Linked DNA regions of Homo sapiens: all the other regions are linked to region 1. Evidence: promoter capture Hi-C in 16 types of primary human blood cells and fetal thymus (Javierre and others, 2016). All regions are on one chromosome and are shown on one strand. The core of a region is centred on a gene start or on the middle of the fragment in contact, and the rest is flanking DNA. Distances in the headings are between cores, read along the strand shown. Region 1 holds the start of CREBL2 (cAMP responsive element binding protein like 2). Region 2 has its middle 4.5 kb from the start of GPR19. Region 3 overlaps DUSP16 (dual specificity phosphatase 16).

The links. Contacts are between HindIII fragments. The CHiCAGO score rates a contact against its expected background, and 5 or more counts as called.
Region 2: a fragment that was not itself captured here is called in contact with the fragment with the promoter of CREBL2 in region 1 in 1 of 17 cell types (total CD8 T cells); the score reaches 5.3 in total CD8 T cells.
Region 3: a fragment that was not itself captured here is called in contact with the fragment with the promoter of CREBL2 in region 1 in 2 of 17 cell types (naive CD8 T cells and non-activated CD4 T cells); the score reaches 6.6 in naive CD8 T cells.

What each region holds. Positions count from the first base shown.
Region 1 is chr12:12,610,542-12,613,608 of GRCh38, forward strand. It overlaps CREBL2 (cAMP responsive element binding protein like 2), which reads left to right and starts at 1,335. Exons shown (of 4, transcript NM_001310.4): 1 at 1,335-1,646. The coding sequence starts at 1,632. RefSeq lists enhancers at 704-1,455, 1,049-1,128, 1,179-1,228 and a silencer at 1,389-1,688. The HindIII fragment of the contact is 19,687 bases long and covers 1-3,067 here.
Region 2 is chr12:12,699,151-12,702,303 of GRCh38, forward strand. It overlaps a transcript of GPR19 not described here. Among named protein-coding and RNA genes, the nearest start is that of GPR19, 4.5 kb to the left of the region's middle. The HindIII fragment of the contact is 1,179 bases long and covers 966-2,144 here.
Region 3 is chr12:12,492,267-12,495,604 of GRCh38, forward strand. The region is part of intron 4 of DUSP16 (dual specificity phosphatase 16); the gene reads right to left. Among named protein-coding and RNA genes, the nearest start is that of DUSP16, 69 kb to the right of the region's middle. The HindIII fragment of the contact is 3,950 bases long and covers 1-3,264 here.

The DNA.
Region 1 (3,067 bases), core at 85-2,584:
TATGTGGCCTATTGTGTCTGGCTTTTTTCACTTCACATAAAGTTTTCAAGGTTCAGACATATTGAAGTGTGTATATCCCTTCATTTTTTTTCATTGCTGAATAATATTTCTTTCCTTTTTTTTTGAGACAGAGTCTTGCTCTGTTGCCCAGGCTGGAGTGCCGTGATCACAGCTCACTTCAGCCTCCAACTCCAGGGCTCAAACGATCCTCCCACCTGGGCCTCCCGAGTGGCTAGGACTACAAGCACCACCACCACACCCAAGTAATTTTTAAATTTTTTGTAACACACCCAACTAATTTTTAATTTTTTTTGTAGAGACTGCATCTTACTATATGGGTCTTCTTCCTTCTTCTTTCTTCTTCCTTCTTCTCCTTCTTCTTCCTTCATCGTTCTTCTTCCTTCTTTCATTCTTCTTCTTCTTTTTTTTTTTTTTAAATACAGTGTCTGGCTCTGTCGCCCAGGCTGGAGTGCAGTGGTACAATCTTGGCTTATTGCAGCCTCTGCCTCCCAGGCCCAAGTGATCCTCTCATGTCAGCCTCCCCAGTAACTGGGATTACAGGCATGTGCCACCACACTCGACTAATTTTTGTATTTTTTTGTAGAGACAGGTTTTGCTATGTTGCCCAGGCTGGTCTCGAACTCTTGGGCTAAAGCAATCCTCCCGCCTCGGCCTCCCAACGTGCTGGGATTACAGGCGTGACCCACCACCCCTGGCCAGTATTTCTTAATTTGTATAGTCCACACTGGTTTATCCATTCATCCAGTAAAGGACATTTGCGTTGTTTCCACTTTTTGACTATTATGAATAATGCTGCTAGGAAAGAACATTTATATACAAGTTTTTGTGTAGTCACTCGTTTTAATTTCTCTTGGGTATGGGAGTGGCCAATATTCTGAAGAACTGCCAAATTTCTTCCCAAAGTAGCTGCACTATTTTACATACTTAGTTTTTGTTTTTCGTTTTTTTTTAAATAAAGAACCTTTAGGGTTTCCTCAGCGTCCCAGAGGAGGGCCTGCTTCCGGCACCCCGCCTTCAGGGCTGCCTCCGCAGAGCACCAAACTCCCGTCCCCGCCATTCCAGGCCCTGGCACTTAGGAGCCAAAACCTCAGGTCAGGCGCACTTTGGGCCTCCAGCCCAGCCCCGCCTCCTCAGCGCTAGCTAGTAGGCAAAAGGAAAACAGCTGCCCCTTAATGAGGCTATGTGGACATCGTAGTTTTTTTTCCAGTCAGTAGCGCAGAGACTGTGATAAGAAAAATCACAATTCCCAGAATGCCGCGGTGCTACGGCAGCCGAAGGGGCCATTCCGTGTGCAGCGCTCCCGCCCACCCTCCGGTCTCGGCGGCTCTCCAGAGCGTCTGTAAACACCCAGAGACTGTCATGGAGGGGGAGGAGGAGGCGGCGGCGGCGAAGGGAGGCGTTTGGGGCCGCCTCCAGGGTCCGCTCTGCCATTCCTGAACTGGTCCCTCGTCCCCGTGACTCTGGCATCAGGGAAGCGAACTGTTAGGCGAGAGGAGGAGGCAGCCAGAACCATATCCCCTTCTTCCTCGGGGCGGGGGCCGGGCCAGGCCGGCTGAGCCGGGGGAGGGCTCCGGGAGGGAGTGCCTGGCCAGGCCGGCCTGTCTGCCGCGATGGATGACAGTAAGGTAAGTCTTGTGGTTTGCACGCGCCGCCGCCTTCTTGTCGCTCAATGCTAGTCCCGCGGCTGAACCTCCGCTATGTAGTCCACGCCAACACCCAAGAGACACCTGCCTAAAACATCCCTGCGCCTCTCCAGTCCACTGCCCGATGGTACCCAGCCAGGAAATCAGGGAACACCGGGGCTGCGTTTTTCCAGGAAGGGCCCTCTCTGGAAATTTTTCACTCCCAGGGCGTTTGCTAGCTTTCCAGGTAGTGCAACCCCTAGTCCTTAACTTGCCTGTCGAGATAAGAAACTACTGTACTTTTTCTTCTTGCACTTTTTTGCTGCCTCCTCTCTCCAGTTTGGAGACTTTAGTGCACGCTGAACCAGCCTTATTCCCCTTGACGATTCCCCTTCTCTCAGGCTCCCTTACTCAATGCCCCATTCATATAATCAGTTCACTCCCCCTCTGAGCTATTTCCTGTGGTTGGTTGGAACACCGCTAAGCTCCTGTTGCTATTTGGCCAGTGTGGAGTTTAACCTCCACTAGAAAGCCTTCTCTAAAAAAATACTGATTTTCCTCTTGTTAACTTTAATAGCCCATCACCATCCAATTTCCCTGTCCAAATCACTTACTTTATGATTATAAAATAATAGATAATGTTCATTATTGGTTAATCCAAATAGTTTATCTATGTATAGCCTTTTTGTCTTTATTTATTAATTGAGACGGAGTTTCGCTCTTGTCGCCCAGGCTGGAGTGCAATGGCGCGATCTCGGCTCACCACAACCTCCGCCTCCCGGGTTCAAGCGATTCTCCTGCCTCAGCCTCCCGAGCAGCTGGGATTACAGGCATGCACCACCATGCCCGGCTAATTTTGTATTTTTGGTAGAGATGGGGTTTCTCCATGTTGGTCAGGCTGGTCTCGAACTCCCAATCTTAGGTGTCCGCTCGCCTCGGCCTCCCAAAGTGCTGGGATTACAGGCGTGAGCCACCGCGCCTGGCCGCCTTTCTCTCTTTACATCTACCCACATTAGTGTTGTTTAGTTTTATTTCCTGAAGATAGGGATGGTCAAAGATTTGTTTATTGATGTTTCAGGTTGTTTTGGATTTGGACTTTTTTATTTTAAGGAATCAGACTTCTAAAATTTGCCAGTTTTTAAAGTAAAAACCGTCCTTCTTTGTGCTTCTCAGCGTCTTCTGTTTCACAGTCTTTGGCATACTCTTTACGATAGCTTTGTCCTTTGTTTGGGTGTCTTTTTTTGCTGCTGCTGCAGTTTTTGTTTCACATATCCTCAGAGAGATTCAAAAAATTTCCAACTTCTCTGTGTTCCTTGTTTTATTCTTTCCTTCTTGTTTTCTCTTCCTCTTCATGTAGAAGGCTGTGAGGAAGTGACAGATGGAAGGGAAAGCCCAGTGCAGTACTCTGGAATTGTTACTCACCT
Region 2 (3,153 bases), core at 305-2,804, 89 kb after region 1:
GCCAACATGGTGAAACCCTGTCTCTACTAAAAATACAAAAAATTAGCCGGGCGTGGTGGTGCACACCTGTAATCCCAGCTACTCGGGAGGCTGAGGCAGGAGAATCACTTGAACCTGGGAGGTGGAGGTTGCAGTGAGCCGAGATCGTGCCACAGCACTCCAGCCTGGGCAACAGAGCAAGACTCTGTCTCAAGAAAAAAAAATTGAAAACATACATATTAGGGCCAAATTGCAGGGTTTGTGTATGAATCCCTAATAAGCCAAATAAATTTTGCTTACTTTTAGCTCTGCACTCAGGTCTTAAGTATTGGGGGTAATTCAGTACTCTTGTCATACCTAAAGAAAGGATGTTTCTGCTGGCACAGGCCCATGCCTATAGTCCCAGCTACCCAGGAGGCTGAGGCAGGAATATCCCTTGAGCCCAAGAGTTCAAGTCCAGCCTGGACAATATAGCAAGATCCCATCACTAAAACAGTGTTTCAATCAGAGGGAAGAGAATCTTCAGCACGAGAGGGGAAAAGGGAGAAAGAAGGGCAAATTTGGTTTGTGACTGGTCAAATAATGCCCACTGAGGACAGGAAGCAGATGCACTCTACTTCCTGCTAGGGAACTCTGCCCTTGCCTCCATCTACTGGCATGTTTGCATGGCTGACTTCATTCCATTTACATCTCTGATAAGGAGAGATACCTTTATGGTCTGTTATCTTCAATGTATTAAAGAGTCTATTATCATAGTCACAAGATAGCTGCCGCAGTTCCAAACATCATGTTCTCATATGAAATGTTTCAAATAGAAAAGAGAGTATGAGCCAAAAAAAGCTTTCTTTCTTTTTTTTTTTTTTTGTAAAGATGGGGTCTCCTCATGTTGCTCCTGCTGGTCTTGAACACCTGGCCTCAAGCGATCCTCCCACATCGGCTTTCCAAAGTGCTGAGATTACAGGTATGAGCCACTGCACCTGGCCAAAAGCTTTCTCCTTGAGGCCTCTCTCTTCTTTTTTCTCTCTCTTTCTTTCTCTCTCTCTCTGTCCCTTTATTTTTTATTTTTTATTTTTTTTGAGACAGAGTCTCACTCTGTTGCCCAGGTTGGAGTGCAATGGCATGATTATGGCTCAATGCAGCCTTGACTTCTTGGGCCCAAGTGATTCTTCCACCTCAGCCTCCCAAGAAGCTGGAATCACAGGCATGCACCACCACACCTGGCTATTTGTTGTTGTTGTTGTTTTGTTAGACTCTCTCATAAGGGCAAAAAATGTTTCCCATATGATGTTGCAGACTTCCCTTTATTTCTTACTGCCCAGAACTATGTCATATGACTACCTTTAGCTTCAAGGGAGGCTTAGGGAAGTATGTACAGAGAAAACAAGCATGTTTTTTTAATGGTGCACTAAAAATAACAGGACTTGTGGGAAATATAGGGTTAGAAGCAGGTCACTCAAAACCTTTGCAACTTTGTTAGTTGAGGGCTATAAAAATTACTATGCTAATAAAAAATACACAATTAAATTCCCTCTGACACTTGTACTCAATATCACAGTCATCCTTTAGGGCCATGCTGTCCAATACAGTAGTAACTAGCCATCTGTGTTTATTGAACACTTAGATGTGATAGTCCAAATTGAGAAGGGCTGTTAAGTATAAAATATACACATAAGATTTTAAGAATTTAGTATAAAAAATAATGTAAAAATCTCAATAAATTTTATATTGATTACATGTTGAAATGTCACTTCAACATTTCTTTTTACTTTTACTTTTTAAAAATGTGGCTCCCAGAAAACCTAAATTGTCGAATGTTTCTGTTGGACAGTGCTGCTTTAGTTTCTTGAATCCTGGGGCACATGATTCTTCCTTGGATGTATATGCCCTTGAGGGTATTAATTCCAATTAAGAGCAGTTTCATCAAAATTAAAAATCCGATCGAGGATTTTGTCTTTTTTATCAATCAGTTTTCCCCCAATGGGGTAAAATGGTTTTGCACCTTCATTTACACTTTGCAGTTTACCACAGAACTTAATGTTGTAAAAAACTCTTGAAGCCACCAAACAAGCCTCTGTTTGCACCAAAGGAAGGCATTCTTGCAGAATTTTCTGCTTTTTTTCTTAACATCTTTATATGTTGCTAAGGTTTTCTCTTTAATTGTGAGAAGCTTGTCCCTGCTTGCCCCAAAATGTTAGTGTGCTGGGAAAAATAATGAATGAAGCAATGTAATTTCTGAATTATATTAACATTATCTCCCCATTTGTTGCTTGCCCATTAGCTAATAATGACTATATCTGGCATATAAAGCTTTTATTGTGGGAGATAGGACTGCCAGTAGACAAAAGGGAGAGAAAATCCTAATCCTATAATTTCAAAGAGTTGGTACCCAATTATGGGATATTTTGGACAGTGTCCTTTCTATTCACCAAGTTAACATTTAGTTAATCGCCCCATTTGATTTACTCAATTACCCCTTTCTCCCAGCTAAAATCCATTGAGTTCTAAAGAACCATTTCAAAGGCCAGGCCAGGTGGCTCATGCCTGTAATTCCAGCACTGTGGGAGGCCAAGGCAGGAGGTTTGCTTGACTCCAGGAGTTTGAGAGCAGCCTGAGCAACATGGCGAAATCCTGGCTCTACAAAATATGAAAACTTTAGCTGGGTGTGGTGGTGCGTGCCTGTCATCCTAGCTGCTTGGGAGCCTGAGGTGGCAGAATTGCTTGAGCCTGAAGAGGTCATGGCATAATCATGGCATTGCACTCCAGCCTGGTGACAGAGTGAGACCCTGTCTCAAAAAAAAAAAAAAAAAAAAAGAATGGACAAAGGCTGTCTCTTCAGTAAATCTTTTCCTGATCTCTCCTATAAGCATTTTGCTTGCATCATCTTTTTATAGAACACATATTTGGCCTTATGTTTATGTTATTGTCTGATTTTTATATGTAGAATAATATTTTTAATTTGCATATGTAGAATAAAGCTCCTCCCACTGAAGACAGTGATTGTATTTTATTCACTTTTCAAAATTCCTCTGATGACTAGCCTTATGGTTTGTACAAATTAGGCACAACTAAATATTTGTTGAATTTAATTGTGCTGTATCCTAAAATAATAGAATACTAATAGAATAGAATAGAATAAATAATATAATATTTCTAAAATATTAATAGAATCTTATT
Region 3 (3,338 bases), core at 40-2,539, 120 kb before region 1:
CCCACTCATCTTCACTCACAGCTGAAGAATGACCTTGCTTCCTACTACAATGGAAAAACTGAAACAGTCAGAGGCAAATTTTGATAGACTTCCATCACCACATTTACCCATCTCTCAGCAAATGCGCCCAGATATAATGCCTTCCCACCTGCTGTTTTGGGCGAACTGTCCATACTCGTAAGGCCAATCCCTCCGCTTGCTAAATAAATCCATCCCCTCTTGCTCAAGAACATAGCTTTGTGATTCTCCTTTCTCCTACATCAATTTTCCACTGTACAGGATCATTCTTCCTACCTGCAATCAAACAAACCATTATTTCTCCCACCTTAAAAATATCTCCTCTCAGCTTCGCGTCTCCCTCCAGCCATTACCCCATATCTTTGAAATTCCTTGAAAGAACCCCTTCTACTTGATATCTCCAGCTCCACTCCTCCTGTTATCTCCTGAACCCACTCCATTCAGGCTTTCACCCCCAACACTCTACCAAAACTGCTCAATGATCACCAGCGATAGTCATGTTGCTAAATCCAATGACCAATTCTCAGTCTTCATCTTTCTTGACCTAAAGTACTACTTGGCACACTCGACTGCTCCTTCCTCCTGGAAAACACGTTGTTTATTTGCCTCCCTGATTACTTGATTTCCTTCCTTCCTCAATATTTACTTCTCAATATTCTTTGTTGGGTCATTCTCAACTCCCCAGACTTTCAGGGTGGGAGTGCTCACGGCTCAATCCTTTTCTCATCTATATTTTGCCTCTTAGTAATTATCTGATCATCTCTTATGACATCAAGTACTGTCTGTATGTTAATGACTCCCACCTTTATACCTCCTCCTTCAGGGATCCCCCTGCCCCATTCATACATCCATCTGTCTACTCAACATCTCCACTTGGAAGTATAACAGGCATTTCGAACTCAGCGTGTCCAGAACTGACTCCTGCCCTTCCTACAGACTCCATCTCAGTTAATGGCAACTGCATCTCCGAGTCTCCTTGACACCTCTCTTTTTCACACACCCCTACCATCCAATCCTATTGGCTATACCTTCAATATAGAGCCCAAATCTCACCATTACTGCCACCTTGACTTCAACACATTACCATGGAGCCTCCTAACCGGCCTTCCTGCTTCCATCCAGTAGGAAATTCAGGCTATTTTCAACACAGAAGCTAAAGTGATCCTAACAATGTAAGTCAGATTATGTTGCTCCTCTGCTTGGAACCTTCCAATGACTCCCTCTGAACTCTTTTTCTCAGAGTAAAAGCTCCCGTCTTTCCAAGTCCTATGCAGAAATCTTGTATTGTCTGGATCTGCTCCTGTTACCTCTCTGACGACACTCTCCCATGCTCACTCTGCTCCAGCCACACTGGCCTCGCTCTTCCTTTAGCATACCACATGTGCTTTGCCTTGGTGGCTTCTTCTGCCTGTACTGCTCTTCCTCCAGATATTCAAATGGCTTACTCTTTGACCTCCTTTGAGTGTTTGTTCAAATGCCTCTATCTCAATTAGGCCACTTTGATCACCCATTTAATTACAACCCACACCTCACAGGTAATCCCCAGCCCTCTTACCCTGTTTTCTTCATAGCACTCATACTGTACTATACTATGTAATTTACCTATTTATTATGCTTCCTATCAAGTTTCTTTCTCCTAGGATGTAAGCTAATGAAAGCAGAGATTATTGTCTCATTTCCTGGTGTACCCCCAGCACCTAGAACACTGTTTGGCACATGGTAGAGGCTCAATAAACATTTGTTGGGCGAATACATGAACGAACCCTTATCCCTGAAGCTGACTAAAATCAGTATCTAGTAACTGGTTTATTAGCATCTTCTAATGAGAAACCTTCATATATGTTCCTTGCACATTTTCATTTTACAAGTCACTGTAAAATATCATTAACTTACATTCATTTCATAATTTAAAAAAGACTGTTTTTCCTGGGTTGAAAATTTTAGATTCTCAAATTCATTAACAGAAGGTTTTCTGAGTAAATTAACAGAAGGTGTGTTTACTTAATGTTTAAGGACATGTACATTTCATACAAGTTGCATGGGTTACAAATTAGGATATAACTATTTATTTTGAAAAATAATCACCAAGGGCTTACTATGCATCAAGGTATTCTGGGGCATAAAAAAGCAAGTGTTCTCACTGAGGGATGAATAGTCTACTAGCAACTGTAAGACAGTTGCACGAATAATGATGATACAAAGAGGTATCCGATGAATATAATGTAGCAGGATAAACAAAATGGCAGTGGAAAACAGGAGTAAAACCAAAGGGAAGGATTCTGAGAAGACTATTTATAATGGGAACTAAAATTGTCAGCTGAAGCTCAGATGGCGGTAGAGGCATTCCAGATGGAGTATAGAAAATGAATGAAGACCAAGGACAGGACAGAAATATCTGGGGTGCACTCACTAGGTGAGTGTGTCCAGACATTGAAAGAGGATGAGCAGAGGAAGAGAACAGGAGAGGTAAGAACTAAAAAGGTGGTATTAGGTCCTGGAAGGTCTTAAATATCAAGCTAAAGAGTTTTACTGCCAAGCTACAGAACTTTATCAAATGCCATACTGAGAAGACTGATCGATTTATTAAAGCAAACTCCTAAAGGATCTCTTCTTGGAAACAATTCATTAGTGGTTAGTGTGGAATCTCAGTGTGGCACGGAATAAAGTAAAGTACATGGGTAACGGCCCCAGAAAAACCAGAGCACAGCCCAGCGCATTACCACTCATCGCCTGGGTGATCTTGGGAAGGTTACCTAACCTCCGGTAGCTTTAATTTCCTCACCTGTAAAATAAGGCTAATGATGTGTATTTTGTAAAGCCAGTATGAGGATAATAAAGTGCCTGACACATAATATAGGGTCCCCTGAAATGTTAGTTCTCTTATTTTATCTTGTTGTAAAAATTGCTTGTAAATTGTATGGTATATGAATTATATCTCAGTAAAGCCATTACAAAAAAAAAAAAAAAAAAAAGCCCATGATGTATATTTTTCACTAATCCAAACTGTCTTTTCTCCTAATTGGTGTTAAGTAGGGAAATTACATTGAATACAGCAGGCGAGGTTCATCTGCAAAGTGAAGACATACTCCCCCTAAGGATTTAAATAGTGATTCTAGTTTCAACACACAGTTGAGTAAACTTTCAAAAATGATTATCTGTAAACCAAGACAAATTTCATTTTATTATTATGATTTCCATTCACAACTTTTCTCCCTTGAAAACTTTCTCTCTCCTAACCCTGAAATAAGCTTTCTCCTGCAGTCAGACTAATTTCTAAATATGAGTTCTATGATCCTTTGATGCAGACTGTGAAGTAGTAC